Regions from separate parts of the Homo sapiens genome. Here region 1 is linked to region 2. The links are contacts of gene promoters, found by promoter capture Hi-C in human tissues and cell types (Jung and others, 2019). All regions are on one chromosome and are shown on one strand. The core of a region is centred on a gene start or on the middle of the fragment in contact, and the rest is flanking DNA. Distances in the headings are between cores, read along the strand shown.

Region 1 (4,623 bases), core at 664-3,163, 1.7 Mb after region 2:
CTGCCTCGGCCTCCTAAAGTGCTAGGATTATAGGCATGAGCCACCACGCCAGGCGGGCTTAATTTATTTATTTTTATTTTTCATTTTTTGAGATGGAGTCTCACACTGTCACCCAGGCTGGAGTGCAGTGGCGTGATCTCGGCTCACTGCAACCGCCACCTCCCAGGTTCAAGCGATTCTCTTTGCCTCAGCCTCCTGAGTAGCTGGGATCACAGGTGCCTACCACCATGCCCGGCTAATTTTTTTTTTTTTGTATTTTTAGTAGAGACAGGGTTTCACTATGTTGGCCAGGCTGGTCTTGGACTCCTGACCTTGTGATCCGCCCACCTCAGCCTCCCAAAGTGCTGGGATTACAGGTGTAAGCCACTGTGCCTAGCCGGGTTTTATTTTTTATATTTTATTTTATATTTTGTAGACACAGGGGTCTCCCTATGTTGTTCAAGCTGGTCTCGAACTCCTGGCCTCAAGTGATCCTCCTGCCTCGACCTCTCAAAGCTCTGGTATTATAGGTGTGAACTACTGCATCTGGCCTGTATAATTTTCTTATTTTAAACATATTAATGTATTAGCAATATAAAAGTATATTTATATTACATGACTCAATGCACGTAAAATACTTAAAACAATGTCTTATATCGGCACACACACACATATATATATACACACACATTTATACATGCATATATATATATATCTGTGTGTGTATATATATGCAATGGATATTTCCAGAAAGATACAGAAGAAATCAGTAAAAACAGAAAGGGAGGAACTCTGGGCAACTGGAAAACAGGGGTGGCTGAGGAGGCTTGCGTCTACCCTGAAATCTATTACCAAGTCAAAACACATCACTATGGATGTATGTATTTTAACGAAGTATTTATAATCTTTCAGGCAAGGAGCCCAGTGATAACAAATGGCTGTAGATGCTTTTCCTCCATCAAGCTTCCAGGAGGAGATGAGATGGAGCCCATCGCTGAGCCAAGGTCACCAGCCCCATTTCACAAATGTAAATAGCAGGTGTCCCCCACACAGTCTGAACACTTGGAGGCCAAGATTCATTTCTCTCAGGGCCCACCATCCTCAAGCATGGGATTGATTTAGTGCCTCTTGCTGGGAAGCAAAGTTCTGGGAGCCATAGTGGGATCCTCCCTCCCTCCCTGCAGGAGACTGGGGCCCTTCCAAGCAGCAACTGAGACCAGTCAACAACCTCTGCCTTAGGCCAGGCGCGGTGGCTCACGCCTGTAATCCCAACACTTTGGGAGGCTGAGGCGGGCAGATCATCTGAGGTCAGGAGTTCAAAACCATCCTGGCCAACATGGTGAAACCCCGTCTCTACTAAAAATACAAAAATTAGCTGGGCGTGGTGGTGCGTGCCTGTTGTCCTAGCTACTCCGGAGGCCAAGGCAGGAGAATTCCTTGAACCTGGGAGACAGAGGTTGCAGGTCTGAGATTGCACCACAGCATCCAGCCTGGGCGACAGAGTGAGACCCTGTCTCAAAAAGAAACAAATTAAAAAACAAAAAACAAAAAACAACCTCTGCCTGCCCTTGGGGCCTAGCATGAGCCCCTGCACACAGGAGGCTTCTATAAAAATAGCTCATTTCGGGTAATCTAGGGCAGAACCCAGGCTTTTACCACTTGTGGTTTCTCTTTCTAAATGTGTAGTTAAAAGCTGTAGGCCAGACCTGGTGCATGGTGGCTCATGCCTGGAATCCCAACACTTTGGGAGGCTGAGGTGGGAGAATCACTTGAGGTCAGGAATTTGAGATCAGCTTGGCCAATATAGCAAGACCCTGACTCTTTAAAAAAAAAATTTTTTTTTTAATTAGCCAGGCAAGGTGGTTGTGCCTATAGTTCCAGCTACTCAGGAGGCTGAGGCAGGAGGCTCACTTGAGCCCAGGAGTGCGAGGCTGCAGTGAGCTGTGACTGCACTGCTACACTCCAGCCTGGACAAACTGAGCAAGACCCCATCTTAAAAAAAAAAAAAAAAAAAAAAAAAAAAAAAGACTGGTTGCAGTGGCTCATGCCTGTAATCCCAGCACTTTGGGAGGCCGAGGTGGGCGGATCACCTGAGGTCGGGAGTTCGAGACCAGCCTGACCAACATGGAGAAACTCCATCTCTACTAAAAATACAGAATTAGCTGGGTGTGGTGGCACATGCCTGTAATCCCAGCAACTCAGGAGGCTGAGGCAGGAGAATCACTTGAACCCAGGAGGCGGAGGTTGCTGTGAGCTGAGATCGCGCCATTGCACCCCAGCCTGGGCAACAAGAGCAAAACTCCGTCTCAAAAAAAAAAAAAAGAAGAAGAAGAAGAAACCCAAACACACACACAAACAAAATAACAGGTGCAGGCCAGTTAAACAAAAACAACTCAAGAACTGTGCCCTGCAGGGGCGCATTCATGTGCGGGTGCCCCCTAGAGGACTCTGAGGGTAGAATGCATTCATCCTGAATGGATGCAAGAGGATCATTTTTCTTCATCCAAAGTGAATTCCCTACCGTATGCTATGCCCAGGGGACATGGCCAGTGAACAAGACATGCAAACATTATTGCTGCTGCTCTGTTCACACATGCAAGAGAGAGACAATGAGTCAGCAAACACACACATAAGTTGTTTTTGTATAGCAAAATGTACCAGAACATAAGATATAGGGGACTGGTGGCTGGGCGTGGTGGCTCATGCCTGTCATCCCAGCACTGTGGGAGGCCGAGGCAGGTGGATCACCTGAGGTCAGGAGTTGAGACCAGCCTGGGCAACATGGGGAAACCCCATCTCTACTAAAAAATACAAGTCCCAGCTACTCAGGAGGCTGAGGCAGGGGAATTGCTTGAACCTGGGAGGCGGAGGTTGCAGTGAGCCAAGATCGCCCCACTGCAATCCAGCCTGGGTGACAGGTAGAGACTCCATCTCAAAATGATGATGATAAGAAGAAGAAGAAGAAGAAGAAGAAGGCTGGGCACGGTGGCTCACGCCTGTAATCCCATCACTTTGGGAGGCTGAGGCAGGCAGATCACGAGGTCAGGAGTTCGAGACCAGTCTGACCAACATGGTGAAGCCCCATCTCTACTAAAACTACAAAAATTAGTCGGGCATGGTGGTGTACGCCTGTAATCCCAGCTACTCAGGAGGCTGAGGCAGGAGAATTGCTTGACCCTGGGAGGCAGAGGTTGCAGTGAGCCGAGATCGTGCCACTGCACTCCAGCCTGGGTGACAGAGCAAGACTCCATCTCAGATAATAATAATAATAATAATGGCTCAAGCTAATAAAAGAAGGCCTGTCAATGCACCTATATCACCTTCTCTGTTGCATTATTAAAAAAAAAAAGATATAGGAGGCTGGGGTGAGCTACTTTAGATGGAGTGGTCAGGGAAAGGCCTTTTGAGGGGAGGACTCTGAGCTGCTGGCTGAAGGATAAGACAGAACCACCACCCAAAGCATCTAAGAAAGGCTGCCAGTCCAGACACAGGCGCCCTGAGTGGTACACAATAGGTGTGCTCATCCGAGAGCAATGAGGCTAGTGCCGCTGAATTCAGAGTGATTGAGGAACTGCGGTAGGAAATGAGGCAAATAATGTGGTATTGTCGCAACCATGGAAATGCAGGCTGATGACACAGAACACTACAGATTTCAGAAACAGATGCACTTGATCTGTGCACAAAGTCACATTGCTTTTTTGCAGTCGAGAACAGACATTTTTGTGGAGCTGTATTCGGTCCAGGACCCCGACCTTACACCGTACCCCAAATACATTTCTAGATGGTTCACATGTCTAAGTGTGAAAGATAAAACTATAAATATTCAAGAGCAAGGCATTGGGAAACATCTCTGGGATATCAGGATTGGCAAGGATTTCTTTTTTCTTTCCTTTTTTTTTTTTTGAGACAGATTCTTGCTCTGTTGCCCAGAATGGAGTGCAGTGGCGCGATCTTGGCTCACTGCCAGCCTCCGCTTCCTGGGTTCAAGCGATTCTCCTGCCTCAGCCTCCCGAGTAGCTGGGACTACAGGCGCCCACCATGCCCACCTAATTTTTATATTTTTAGTAGAGACGGGGTTTCACCATGTTGGCCAGGCTGATCTCAAACTCCTGACATCAAGTGATCCGCCCGCCTCAGCCTCCCACAGTGCTGGGATTACAGGCAAGAGCCACCGCGCCTGGCCAGTAGTGATTTTTTTAAATAGACAAATGAAAAGTGTATGTGTTGGCCGGGCTCGGTGGCTCATGCCTGTAATCCTAGCACTTTGGGAGGCTGAGGCAGGTAGATCACGAGGTCAAGAGATCAAGACCACCCTGCCAACACGGTGAAACCCGTCTCTACTAAAATACAAAAAATTAGCCAGGTGTGGTGGCACACACCTGTAATCCCAGCTACTTGGCAGGCTGAGACAGGAGAACCGCTTGAACCCGGGAGGTGGAGGATGCAGTGAGCCGAGATGGCGCCACTGCACTCCAGCCTGTCGACAGAGCAAGACTCTGTCTCAAAAAAAAAAAAAAGAAAAAGAAAAGTGTATGTATTTATGGTGTACAACATAATGTATTGCTATATGTATACATTGTGGAGTGGCTAAATCAAGCTGTTGAACACGTGCATTGCCTCACATACTTATTTCTTTATGGTGTG
Region 2 (4,112 bases), core at 1,231-3,730:
ATTATTTCTTTTAAATCATGCTTCTGATCCACTATCATTTCTCCTATCTGTTTGTGAAGTGAAACTTCTTACTGAGACTCGCTAGGTTTGGAAACTTCTAGTATCTCACTTTCATCCTCTGTAAAAGGGAAAAATAATGGTACCTACTTCATAAAGCAAGGAGTAAATGGGATCATATTTGTAATACGCTCACAAGAGTAAGCTATTATTTTTCATTTCATTTATTTTTATAATCCCCATGTATTTCTTTTTCCTTTACTTTTTTCTTTTCTTTTTTTTTTTTTTTTTTTTTTTGAGGTGGAGTTTTGCTCTGTTGCCCAGGCTGGAGTGCAATGGCACGATCTCAGCGCACTGCAACCTCTGCCTCCCAGGTTCAAGCCATTCTCCTGCCTCAGCCTCCTGAGTAGCTGGGATTATAGGCATGTGCCATTATGCCTGGCTAATTTTTGTACCTTTTGTAGAGATGGGGTTTCACCATGTGGGCCAGGCTGGTCTTGAACTCCTGGCCTCAGGTGATCTGCCCACCTGGGCCTCCCAAAGTGCTGAGATTACAGGCGTGAGCCACCATGCTTGGCCTCCTTTACTTTTTTGAGTATATAGCACATTCACACGGTTTTGAATTCAAAAAGTACAAAAAGCCGGGCACAGTGGCTAATGTCTGTAATTCCAGCACTTTGGGAGGCCGAGGCAGGTGGATTGCTTGAGCCCAGGAGTTCAAGCCCAGCCTGGGCAACATAGGGAGACCCCATCTCTACAAAACATACAAAAATTAGCCAGACATGGTGGCACACTCCTGTAGCCCCACCTACTCAGGAGGCTGAGGTGGGAGGATTGCTTGAGCCCGGGAGGTCGAGGCTGCAGTGAGCCGAGATCACACCACTGCACTTCCTCCAGCCAGCCTGGGCAACAGAAGGAGATCTCATCTCAAAAGAAAACAAAACAAAACAAAAAAAAACAAACAAACAAAAAAACAAGGATAGAGTGTAGTAAATTTCTGTCCTGGAAGTTAGACTATGTTGCCAGTTTCAGTTTCTTCTCTCTTGTTCCAGTTCATCTGGACACAATCCCAGAACACACACAAACCCAGAACAGGCTGCAGGCTGTACTTGACCTTCCATTTTTCTCTTCTACAGGTTATCACTTGGAGACTTACCATATATGCACACGGTGAGCTTCTTTGTTCTTTTCTATGGACACCTAGTATTCCACTGGGTGGATCAGTCATGATTTATTACTCAGCTCTCCTACAGATGGGTGTTTAGATTGGTTTCAGCTGTTTGCAGTGATGTGCAGTACTGCAATGATTAACCTGGTGCAGACATTATTTTGTGCAGTTCCGAGTAGATGCCTCTGAAGAATAAATTCCTGGAATTGCTGGCTCGGTAAGAATGTTCCAGGTTCTACTTGCCCCAGCCGTGTATGAAAGGACCTGTTTGCTCGCACTCTCATTAGCACTGTTTGGCAGGAATGTAACCTTAAACAAACAGCGTCAAGCTGTGGGTATACTCCTGCAAAATGCCTTTTCTGCTCCAGAATAGGTTTCTGAGATGTCGCCAGGTTGGTTTCATTCTGCCAATTTCAGCTGAAACATTGCTGCCTCCAGGAAGACCTCAGGAATCACCTCCTCCCAGTGTGAGCTCAGCTCAGTGCCTTCTGTTCTCTGCATTCCCATAGCAGTTCCCTGCCTCGGAGCACACGTTCCCCCACATGCACTCCAGCGTGATTGATCCGTATCTATCTGCCTTCCCCATCAGACAGTGAGCTCCGGTTTTTGCCACTGTGACTCCAGCACCAAGGACAGCACCAGCCCATAGTAGGTGCTCAGTAAACATTGGCTGCTAAGGTCCCAGTGAATATGCGTATATGTAGACAAATATATGCAGGCTGGCCCGTAGTAGATATTCAGTAAATATTGGTCGCTTAGGGTTGAATGAGTATATGCAGGGGCTTTCACAAAGGGGGAAACCGAGGCTCGAAGTGGGAGAATCCTTCACCCAGACAGCCAAGGGAAGGCTGGAGCCAGGTTCTGATCCAGAGTGCCAGTACTTCCTGAAGCCTCTGTCACTGATTCATTCATCTTCCTCCCCCGGCCACTCCCCTGGCCTGACACAGTGCCTGGCACAGACAGGACCTGATAAATGTGTATTTGTTGAAGGAATGAATGAATATGTGTGTGTGCATGTTGGGGAGCCGGGAGTAGCTGGACCCAGTGTTCCAGGCCCTCAGCACCCTCCGCCCTCTGGGAGCCCGGGGGACAGGCCCCCAGCCCCCTCCCCTCACAGGACCCTGTAGTGCAAGCTGCCTTCCCTCCCCTCTCCAGGTCCCCCGTCCTCCCGCTTCCGGCTTCCCAGCCAGTCTTTCCTCTTTCAGGCTCCGAGGAAAGGCCAGGTTTCCGGGGGGAAGGCTTAGGCAGTGACACCGAGCCCAGCCTCCTCCTCCACCCCCCACCACGCTCAGGCCCCCCTCCCTCCCCGCCACCACCGTCCGCGTTTGGCCGGCCGTGGGGAAGGAAGAAAGGAGCCAAGGAGGCGAGGTAAGAACCCAGCCCCAGCGACCAGGACCAAGCCCCAGGCCCAGGGCTGAGAAATCCTCAAGGCCTCGACCCGGCCCCAATTCTGCTGATCATGCCTTCGGGGAGCTGCAGGCTTGGCCCGGAGGAGATCGGCCCCCCTCTAGGACCTGGGACCCCCGACCCCCACCAGCCTCCCTCCCGAGTCCAGGGGTCCGGCCCTCAGTCGCCTCCTCCCTGGGGATTCCCGGCAGCTGGGTCCCCAGCCCCCGCCTCCCCCTTGTCCTGGGAGCCCAGCCCCCTCCCCAGCCCCTCCTCCACCGGGACCCAGGAATCCACACCTCCTCCATACCAGAGTCCAGATTCCCCAATCCGTCATGACCTGGACCCAGGAGTCTCAATCCCCAGCTCCCATCCCCATCAGTCCCAAGAGTCTGGGCCCCTAGCCCCCTCCCAACTCAGACCAGAAGTCTGAACCCTCCTACTCCCCGACCTCTCCCAGCCCCTGGCATCTGAGAACACACTCTATTTCCGGGGCCTACCGGCTTCAAATCCCACCCCCTCCACTCAGGCCCCATGGGCTGTGTCCCAGCCCCTCCCAAAACGTTCAGCCTGGCCGGGGGACCTGGAGCAGAAGCGGTTCGCTGACTTTGTCCCCCTCCGTGCCTCTGCCCAGTTCACTCCCTCTGTGTCTCTGTCTCCCTGTCTCTCCGGCCCCCAACCCGCCACTGCTCTTCTGATCTCTGCTCTTGCACTATCTCTGCCTCTGGTTCTCCAAGTCTCTTTGTTTCCTCTTCTCTGTGTCTCTGTCTCTCTGCTGGGTGTTCCTCACTCTCCTCTGTCTCTTCTCTGCTCTGCCTTTCACCATCCTGTCTTTCTGCGACTCCTGGTCTCTGTCTGTCCATCCCCACTTCTCTGTGTCTCCCATCTCTGCCTTCTCCTGTCTCTATTCCCTGCTCTGTCGCTCTGTCTCTGATCTCTCTCCTCCTGTCTCTCCATCTCTGGCCTCCCCTCGGTGTCTCTCATCTTTGTCTCTGTCTCATATCTCTCTCCTGGCTAAATACCTGACCCTCTCTGCCTCTCCATCTCTGACTGTCTCTGCTTCTCTTTCTGCCACACCCCACGCACCTCTTTTTATCTCTGCCCCGCTTCCCATCTCTCCCCTCTCTCCCCACAGGCATGGATCCGCAGCCTCCTCCACCCGCCCAGGGCAGCCCACCTCACCGTGGCCGAGGCCGGGGCCGTGGCCGAGGCCGTGGTCGGGGCCGTGGCCGTGGCAGGGGGGGCGCTGGAGCCCCTAGGGCGCCCCTGCCCTGCCCCACCTGCGGCCGCCTCTTCCGTTTCCCCTACTACCTCTCCCGGCACCGGCTGAGCCACTCGGGGCTCCGGCCCCACGCCTGCCCGCTGTGCCCCAAGGCCTTCCGCCGGCCGGCCCACCTTTCCCGCCACCTGCGCGGCCACGGGCCCCAGCCCCCGCTGCGCTGCGCCGCCTGCCCCCGCACCTTCCCAGAACCGGCCCAGCTCAGGCGCCACCTGGCTCAGGAGCACGCGGGCGGCGAGGTCGAGCTGGCCATCGAGAGGGTGGCCAAGGAGACGGCCGAAC

What was found. The method cuts DNA at HindIII sites, captures the fragments that hold promoters and counts their contacts. A contact is called where the count stands out against the background at its distance.
Region 1: a contact is called between a fragment that was not itself captured here and the fragment with the promoter of ZNF579 in region 2, in 1 of the 25 tissues and cell types used here (spleen).

What each region holds. Positions count from the first base shown.
Region 1 is chr19:53,850,904-53,855,526 of GRCh38, reverse strand. MYADM-AS1 (MYADM antisense RNA 1) reads left to right here. Exons shown (of 3, transcript NR_184033.1): 3 at 892-3,293. Among named protein-coding and RNA genes, the nearest start is that of MYADM, 15 kb to the left of the region's middle. The HindIII fragment of the contact is 6,687 bases long and covers 1-4,623 here.
Region 2 is chr19:55,579,216-55,583,327 of GRCh38, reverse strand. ZNF579 (zinc finger protein 579) reads left to right here and starts at 2,480. Exons shown (of 2, transcript NM_152600.3): 1 at 2,480-2,533; 2 at 3,687-4,112. The coding sequence starts at 3,689. RefSeq lists silencers at 1,131-1,425, 2,137-2,276. The HindIII fragment of the contact is 17,237 bases long and covers 1-4,112 here.